2 separate regions of the Homo sapiens genome follow, and region 1 is linked to region 2. The links are contacts of gene promoters, found by promoter capture Hi-C in blood cells and fetal thymus (Javierre and others, 2016). All regions are on one chromosome and are shown on one strand. Each heading gives the region's core, a stretch centred on a gene start or on the middle of the fragment in contact. The rest is flanking DNA. Distances are from core to core; before and after follow the strand shown. Region 1 holds the start of OR1J1 (olfactory receptor family 1 subfamily J member 1). Region 2 holds the start of NDUFA8 (NADH:ubiquinone oxidoreductase subunit A8).

Evidence for each region. Contacts are between HindIII fragments. The CHiCAGO score rates a contact against its expected background, and 5 or more counts as called.
Region 1: a contact is called between the fragment with the promoter of OR1J1 here and the fragment with the promoter of NDUFA8 in region 2, in 4 of 17 cell types (M2 macrophages, M0 macrophages, M1 macrophages and 1 more). The highest score is 9.4, in M2 macrophages.

Annotation. Positions count from the first base shown.
Region 1 is chr9:122,476,405-122,480,764 of GRCh38, forward strand. OR1J1 (olfactory receptor family 1 subfamily J member 1) reads right to left here and starts at 1,522. Exons shown (of 1, transcript NM_001004451.1): 1 at 554-1,522. The coding sequence starts at 1,522. The coding sequence ends at 554. It also overlaps a transcript of OR1J2 not described here. The HindIII fragment of the contact is 5,266 bases long and covers 1-4,316 here.
Region 2 is chr9:122,157,804-122,162,225 of GRCh38, forward strand. It overlaps NDUFA8 (NADH:ubiquinone oxidoreductase subunit A8), which reads right to left and starts at 1,976. Exons shown (of 4, transcript NM_014222.3): 1 at 1,824-1,976. The coding sequence starts at 1,874. It overlaps MORN5 (MORN repeat containing 5), which reads left to right and starts at 2,105. Exons shown (of 5, transcript NM_198469.4): 1 at 2,105-2,216. The coding sequence starts at 2,170. RefSeq lists an enhancer at 1,887-2,181. The HindIII fragment of the contact is 8,418 bases long and covers 1-4,422 here.

The DNA.
Region 1 (4,360 bases), core at 272-2,771, 320 kb after region 2:
GGCTTCCTTTTCATACCAGCCAAAGTGACATAACATGCTCAGAATATTTTCCAATTCCATTACCCAAGAAAAGAGCAAACAAAGTCCTATACAACATATCCTATTTTACTATTCCCTCAAACAGATGCAATAATAATATCAGGAAAGCATTTCAGAGTGACAGCTGTGGAAGAAAGACAAGTGAGCTATATTTTCAATAATTTGTATTTCTGTATTATTGAGGAAAAATATTACATGGGATGTTTTAAAAGAAAGGTAAATATCAGTTAGAATAATGGTTTTTTTTTACTCAATAATTTTTTTTTCTTTTTTCTTTTTTTTGACAGAGTCTTGCTCTGTCACCCAGGCTGGAGTGCAGTGGCACGATCTTGGCTCACTGCAACCTCCGCCTCCTGGGTTCAAGTGATTCTTCTGCCTCAGTCTCCCGAGTAGCTGGGACTATAGGCATGCACCACCATGCCCGGCTAATTTTTTTGTATTTTTAGTAGAGACTGGGTTTCGCCATGTTGGCCAGGCTGGTCTCGAACTCCTGATCTCAGGTGATCCGTCTGCCTCAGCCTCCCAAAGTGTTGAGATTACAGGCATGAGCCACTGCGCCTGACCTACTCAAGAGTTTTCTTAGGGCTCCCTTAATGTCTTTATTTCTCAGACTGTAAATGAATGGGTTCAACATGGGAGTGACTGCTGTGTATATCACTGAAGCAATTATGTTCTTGTCATTGGTGTTGCTGGATGGGGGAAGAAAATAGAGACCAATAATTGTCCGATAATAGATAGTCACCACTGAGAGGTGGGATCCACAAGTGGACAAGGCTTTGCATATGCCCTTGGTAGAGGGAATCTGGAGGATGGTGACCCCAATGTGACCATAAGAAACCAGGATGCACAGGAATGGAAGCATAATGGCTGTCAATGCTGCTGTAAAGATTGCTAACTGATTGAGGGAGGTGTCTGAGCAGGACAACTTGAGCAGGGCACCAAGGTCACAGAAGTAGTGAGGGATGATGTGGTCAGCACAGAAGGAAAGCTGGGCCAGGAGGAGGGTATGCAAAAGAGCACACGCACAAGCGATGACCCAGGACCCAGCCACCAGCATGACACACTGGCTCTGAGTCATGATGGTGGCATAATGTAGAGGATGACAGATGGCCACATACCTGTCATATGCCATTGAAGTGATAAGGAAACTGTCTAAGTCAGCAAAAAATATGAAAAAATATGTCTGTGAAATGCATCCCTTGTAAAAGACGGCTAGGTGCTGAGTCTGCATGTTCATCAGCATCTTAGGGACAGTGACAGATGAAAAGGAGATGTCAGTGAGGGCCAAGTGGCTAAGGAAGAAGTACATGGGGGTGTGAAGGTGAGAGTCTAGCTGGATGAGCAGCATGATGAGCAGGTTCCCCAGCACCGTGGTCAGGTACATGCCCAGGAACAGGGCGAAGAACACGGCCTGCTGCTCTGGCCGGATGGGGAGGCCCAGGAGGAGGAACTCGGACACGCTGCTCTGGTTCTCAGGGCTCATGTTTATATCAGCTGGAGGGCACTAGGGAAATTTGAAGGAAAAAAATGGTATGTCTTGGAATAAGAAATGATAACTGTGGCATAGTATAATAGAGATGTTCTTTTGACTTAGAGAATGTCTTCATATTTTCTTACATTTGCCACATATTTTGCTGCAAATGTGCTGAAAAAGAAATGAAGGTTTAGTCGATATAGCTACTTTCTTTCTGAATCTGGTCTCTGTAAATGATAGTACTAAAAGTTGTTTGCTAAATGTTTTTTAATACACTGTTCCAATAGCTGATGTATTGTAAGTGATTCAATAGCCTTCAATATATGAGCTGGGTGGTACTGTTATTATTTCTACTCTTTAGATGTGAAAGCTAAGGCAGACAGTCTTATAGTCACAGCAATAGGAAGAGGAGAAGCTGGGATTTGGACCGAAGTATCTTGACTCCATAGTTTCTTCTGTGGAAACAAAGCAATTATTTGACATTGGAAATCTCATTGCCTTATTTTGTGTGCAATGACCTATTTAATTCTGTATACCCTGCTTGTCTACACAGTGCATGATTATTTCTAATTTATTCATTGTTTATAGACCCCTAATCTTTTTTTAAGACATAACACTTTATTTATTAAAAAACTCTTCCATGTAAACAATTACTCCAAAAGACAACAAAACAAGTTATTTTGAGTGATTTTTCAAAGGACATACCCACATATTTTATCATGATATATATGTACTATTCTAGAAGGTGGGGAGGGTGGTACTGTTGAAAGTCCAGGTAAATAAATCATAATACGAAGTAAGCAACAAGATAGAAAATCTTTCTTATGGTTTCAGATCCATACATAATTGCTCTGATCTTTTTTTGTTTGTTTGTTTGTTTGAGACAGAGTCTCGCTCTGTTGCCAAGGCTGGAGTGCAGTGGTGAGATCTCGGCACACTGTAACCTCCGCCTCCTGGGTTCAAGCGATTCTTCCAGCTAATTTTTTATTTTTAGTAGAGACGGAGTTTCACCATGTTGGTCAGGCTGGTCTCGAACTCCTGACCTCATGATCCACCCGCCTCAGCCTCCCAGAGTGCTGGGGTTACAGGTGTGAGCCACTGCACCCAGCCTAATTGCTCTGATCTTTTTAAAGTTTAAGATAAGTGTAAGATATTTAATTCTATGTTTGAATATCAATGTGTAGCGCGAAAACATATATATATTCCTCCAGGCTCAACCACACATGTGACAATGTCTCTTGGGGACGCAGCGGTGAATTCCTCTCACAGTATGTCTAAGGAGCATTGGCTCAGTGAGATTTCACATTCAGTGGATTTCAGCCATCTCATCAATTTCTCCATGCTACTGAAATCTCATTGTTCCACTCAGAATTTGTCTTTTCCCCAGGATGGCTTTCAAAGCATTTTACTGACTGTGTCAAGCCAGAGTAAGTAAAATGCTGATGAGTTTGGATTTCCTCCTCCAGTCTCTCGGCCTTTGTGTTTTATTGTTTTGTATCTCATTTCTATATGACATCAGATGCTGTATTAGAAATTCCTGCTTGATCTTGAAATATATCAAAGGTACTGACTGATGAGGCATTAAACACAACTTAAATTCAGTCTTTAATCACTACCACTTTTAAAACATTTAATAGTGTAATTACGAAAAATTCATAAAGACTTGGAAACTTCACATCATAATAAATTCAGATATTAGCGAGGCTGTCAGATGCTGTTACTCTATTCTAAATACCAGTACCAGAAGGACGAGACAATTTCTCAACATATTTGGAAATAATACTTCAGGTTAAGATATGAGCTGGATGTCTTATTTTGGTCTATTCTTTTTCATGTTTCCATGTTCCTTTCTCTTTTTCTTGAAAGATTAGACCTAGAATCTATCATAACCAACTAATGCATACTCTATATAAATTTGTTGATCAAATAAAATGTTAGAGCTATTTAAATTTATCATAACAGCTTTATTAAAAAACTTTTACTGGGCTTAGTTCAAGAACCAGCTTTGCTCTAACAATCCTGGGGCCCCATGTTATTTAGTTGCCACATGGCCTCACATTCAAAGAAATACAATCTAAAAGCTAAAAGTAATTTTAACAGGAATTCTGTTCTTTCAGCATCTCTGAAATAGCTTATAAGCGATTTATTTTTCAACTCACATCAATATTTATCAAAGTACTCTTTTTTTTAATAAAAAGAGAGGGCAGGGATTCACTATAACATATCACAGCTTGTTACAAATAATAAATATTTGCAAGTGATTAAAACAAATAAATATTTGCAAGGATAAACCAATAAAATAATGAAGAAAAATATAGAGCTTAGAAATAGACATGTTTATAATGAGGACCATGAGATTGACAAAAGTGCATTATAAATCAGTGATAAAGTAGTAAAAAGGAAGAACTGTTCATTAAGTGGTGCTGAGGAAGTTGGCTATCAATAAAGGAAAAATAATACTATATCCCTACCTCACATCATTAGAAAACTTTATAGATTATGTTTATGGCCTTAGGTTAAAACATATTTCTTTCTAACTTGTATTTTATGTTCAAGGGTATAAGTGCAGGTTTGTTACGTAGGTAAACTTGTGTCATGGGGGTTTGTTGTACAGATTATTTCATCACCCAGGTATTTCTTTTTTTTTTTTGGCTGTTGAATCCTTTTGAAGGATCTAAAAACAAATTTTATTAGAAAGAAAATGTATTTGCTTCTTTTTTTTATTATTATACTTTAAGTTCTAGGGTACATGTGCACAACATGCAGGTTTGTTACATATGTATACATCATCACCCAGGTATTAAGCTTAGTACCCATTCGTTATTTTTCCTGATCTCTCCCTCCTCC
Region 2 (4,422 bases), core at 726-3,225:
ATAACAGTTGCCACTCTCACAGGCATCTAAGATTAAATGAAGCATTGCAGGTAGAAGACTTAACATACGGCCAGGCGCGGTGGCTCACGCCTGTAATCCCAGCACTTTGGGAGGCCGAGGCAGGCAGATTACGAGGTCAGGAGATCGAAACCATCCTGGCTAACACGGTGAAACCCCGTCTCTACTAAAAATACACAATATTAGCCGGGTGTGGTGATGAGCGCCTGTAGTCGCAGTTACTCGGGAGGCTGAGGCAGCAGAATCGCTTGAACCCGGGAGGCGGAGGTTGCAGTGGGCCAATATCGCGCCACTGCACTCCAGCCTGGGCAACAGAGCGAGACTCTCAAAAACAACAAAACAAACAAACAAAACACTTAACATAGTGCCGGGTATATCATTGCTGGTACATCATTTCTAGTCTTGGCCTTCCTCTCCTTTAATATAGCCTGTTCTACTATCCAGCCCTGCCATGACACTCCTCTGCCTTAAAACCTTCCACTCTTCCCACCACCTCCCTTACTGGATCAAGTCCAAACTGTTTGGTCTGGCCTTGTAGAAGCTGCTTCCAAGTCCTATCTCAGCCCAAGTTGCCTCTCCAGGCTCAGCACCTGCTGCTTCCCACCACCACCACTAGGGTCACATCAAACTGTACTTGGCTCCCTAAACACACAAGTTCTGCTAGGCCGTCTCATTCTTGTGAGTTTTCACCCATAATATAGTGGAAAAGCATTGGTTTTAAAATCAGACTTGGGTTCACTTCCAGCTCTATTACTTACGAGCTCCGTGACCTTGGGCAAATCATTTCTACTCTCGGGGACTAATTCCTTATTTATAACGCTACGACCAATTGTGTGTGTGTGTGTATATATATATATATGACCAATTGTGTGTGTGTATATATATATGGTATATACATATATATATATACACCAATTGTGTATATATATATATGGTATATATATATACACACCAATTGTGTGTGTGTATATATATGTGTATGTGTGTGTATATATATATATATCCTACCTTATAGTGTTGCTGGGAGGATTCAATGAATTAATGCATGGAAAGTAATTAGCATCCTGCCTGGTATCTAGAAAGGACTTGATCATGTTAGCTATAATTAGTAGGGTATGTTTCTACTTCACTCCTCACAGCACTAACTACATTGTACTGTGACTGCCTCTTTATGTGTCTGTCTCCCTACTGGATTGTAAAGTCCATGAAAGCACGAAGTATATCTCTTCCAGCGTTATGTGTACACGTTAATTACTGAAATGATATCTCTTGAATAAACGAATGCTTTAAATGGGTCCTGTTACCAAACACCTTCCCAAGGCTGTGAGTAGATGCACGCTCCAATATTGTCTCATTTTCCCGCGGCTTCGTCACCCCACTCTATGCACTCTGCACCGGTGATACCACTTTAAGGTAGATGACCGTCTCCCTCGACTGTGAGCCCCTAGGGTTGTATACTCACCTCGCATGCAAGTTTGAGGATTAAGCGACATAAGCTAAGTAAAATGACTGGTTGGTGCTTAATAAAATGTATCACTATTATTCACGGAAGGAGAAATAGGTCGCTGTGGAGGGCGAAAGGGGGAGGATTCTAGAGCCACTGCAAGATGCGACAGGGTGGGGTAGAGAGGGGAGGCGACTCCCAAAGCTGCGGAGGGGACCTCCGGGGGTCGACCTGTATATGCGTTGGAGGACTGGGGAGGGGGGCCCGGGTCCCAGGATCCGCGGAGCCCAAGGGGGGCTAGGCCCAGGCCCGAGAAGCCGCAGCCCCATGTCTCCCTTGCCTGTCCTCCGGATAGCCTCACCTCATCTACTTTCAGCTCCTCTAGAGTGGGCAGCTCCACTATCCCCGGCATGACGGCTGCAGCCCCGACCCCGACGAGAAGCCCTCAGCCGCGTCGCCCCCGTCTCCTTGAACTCCCCTTTCGACCGCCGAGTGCCACACGGCGCCTGCGCATGCGCATCCGGCAACACGCAGGCGTATTGCCCTGCCCAACCACGAGCGAGGGAGCGTGCGCAATACCAAGAACTTTTCAGCCTCCAGCGGGGTGGGGCTTCGATTCGGCTCCGCCCACCCCTCCAGGTTGTCATAGTGATGCCGTATCCACTGAGACTCCGGATCCTAACAGCTGGAAGCTAAAAACAGGCGCCATGGAGTACACAGGGAGCAAATATATCGGGGAATATGTAGATGGGAGGTAAGGGGCTCATTTGATTCACTTACTATACCTTGAATAGCTGTGACTGGAAAAAGACGGCTTTTTGCTTCTGCGAAACACCTTGTGCCAGGCACTTTCACAAACTTGCCCGAGTAATTTTTTCAAGGACCATATCTAATAAGCAGCAAAGCTAAGATGCATTCATTCCATATATACTTATATGTGTGTGTGCATTGACTGTGTGTGTGTGCTATCTGCCAGTTTTAAACATAGGAATAAGAATATTTAAAATGTCAAGATCCTTGCTCTTATGGAGTTTATAATCCAGTTGGAGATGTATTGCCAATAAACAAATAAGTGATAAAATAATTACAGATAATGGTAAATGCTATAAAAACAAACACGAAGATTAGGGAAGAGAGACTGGCTAATCTGAATCTACACGGTCGCTTCCTTCCAGGAGGAGTTCACGATCTAGGGATTATTATAGAGGATTATATACACAAATCACTGTAGTGGACTAGTAGTAAAAAACAATTCAACAGTTTTTTTTTCTTTTCTTTTCCTTCCTTCCTTCCTTCCTTTTTTCCTTCCTTCCTTCCTTCCTACCTTCCTCTCTTTCTTTCTTTCTCTCTCGTTTTTGTTTTATTTTCAGACAAGATCTCGCTCTGTTGCCCTGGCTGGAGTGCAGTGGCCTGTTCACTGCTTACTGCAGCCTCAACCCCCTAGGCTCAAACAATCTTCCCACCTCAGCCTCCCAAGTAGCTGAGACTACCGGTGTGCACCACTACCCCCAGCAAATTTTTCAACGCCTTTTGTAGAGACGGCATCTTGCTATGTTGTCCAAGCTGGTCTCATACTCCTGGGCTCAAGTGATCCTCTTGCATGAGCCACCGTGCCCAGCAATTCAACAATGTTGAGTGGCTACCGAGTACCAGGCCCTGTAATTGACTCTGGGCACAATCCCTGTCTTCAGAAAGTTCATTCAAACATGATGCGACAAGTAGACATAACAGATAACTGCGATTCAGTGTGGTAAGAGCTGTAGTAGAGAGAAGCAGAGGAAACACAGAGGTGGCCACTCTTTTTTGCCAACCACCCTGGATGAAGAAAGTGGAATCTCTGTTTTTATAGCTGAGGAAACCAAGGCTGGACGATATGAAGTGGTTTGCTGAACCAGTGCTAGTTGTCGGGACTGTGAAGCACTCCCACCTTGGGGCTCTGTATTCACAAGTTGGTGGAATTCCAGGGCATTCTGAGTTAATAGGAAAGAGGGATCTGTGGTCTGGACAGGGATAGGAGATAGATTCCTAGAGAGGGTGGTAGGAATGCTATGGGATGCTATCTCTCTAATCATTACATCAATTTTGCAAGGAAGATGTTATTATCTTTCCAGGTAAGAAAGGTGACCCTTACAGGGCTTGAGACACTTATCCTACTCAGCAGGTAAGTGGCAGAGGTGCTTGGTGTGTACTCCCTCTCACTACTCAGTGAGATAGTTCAGGCTGACCTTGCAAATAAAGGAACAGAAGTTAGGAGAAGCAAAATGACTGGCCCACCATTATGGATACACAGCTAGGAAGTAACAGAGTCAGGATTTGAACCCAATCCTCTGTCCAAACCACATTCTTACTTTTCACAAGGCTCTGCTACAGTGAAGGTGGTAGAATTTTGGCAGATAGAGATGGGGTATTGGGCATTTTAGGCACAAAAAGTTGAGAAACTACATTAATTTTCGATGGGCTGTATATGGGTGAGAGAGAAACACACAGACAAGGTAAAAGACGGAAGGCTTTCAACCATTTGCCTTTGGCCTTCTGTGTATTTTCATTGGGTTTGTGTGCTGAATCAGCCATTTCCATGCTTTGGCCCTAGGAATTTGGGCTTTGCTTGAGGTTGTCTGGTACCTCTGTAACCACGATAGGGATTCCCAGACCTGAACAGGGCTTCCCAATTTCCCATAACTAGCAAGAAGTCAGCAGTTTTTCACTTGTTATACTTCTTTTCATAAGTTGGACATGTGTTGTTCTGTACTGATTTTGTATTTTTAACAACAGTTAACTAGAATTCTATTTGGGGCATCTCAAATTTCAGCATGTAATGAGAGGATGAGACAGGTCTGGGCTCAAGTCTGCCATTTGCTTGTTGTACACTTAATTAACCATCCATACCTCAGTTTCCTCATCTGTAAAATGGGAAAGCAATGCACATTCAGCAGCAGTGTTCCAAGGAATATGTAATGATC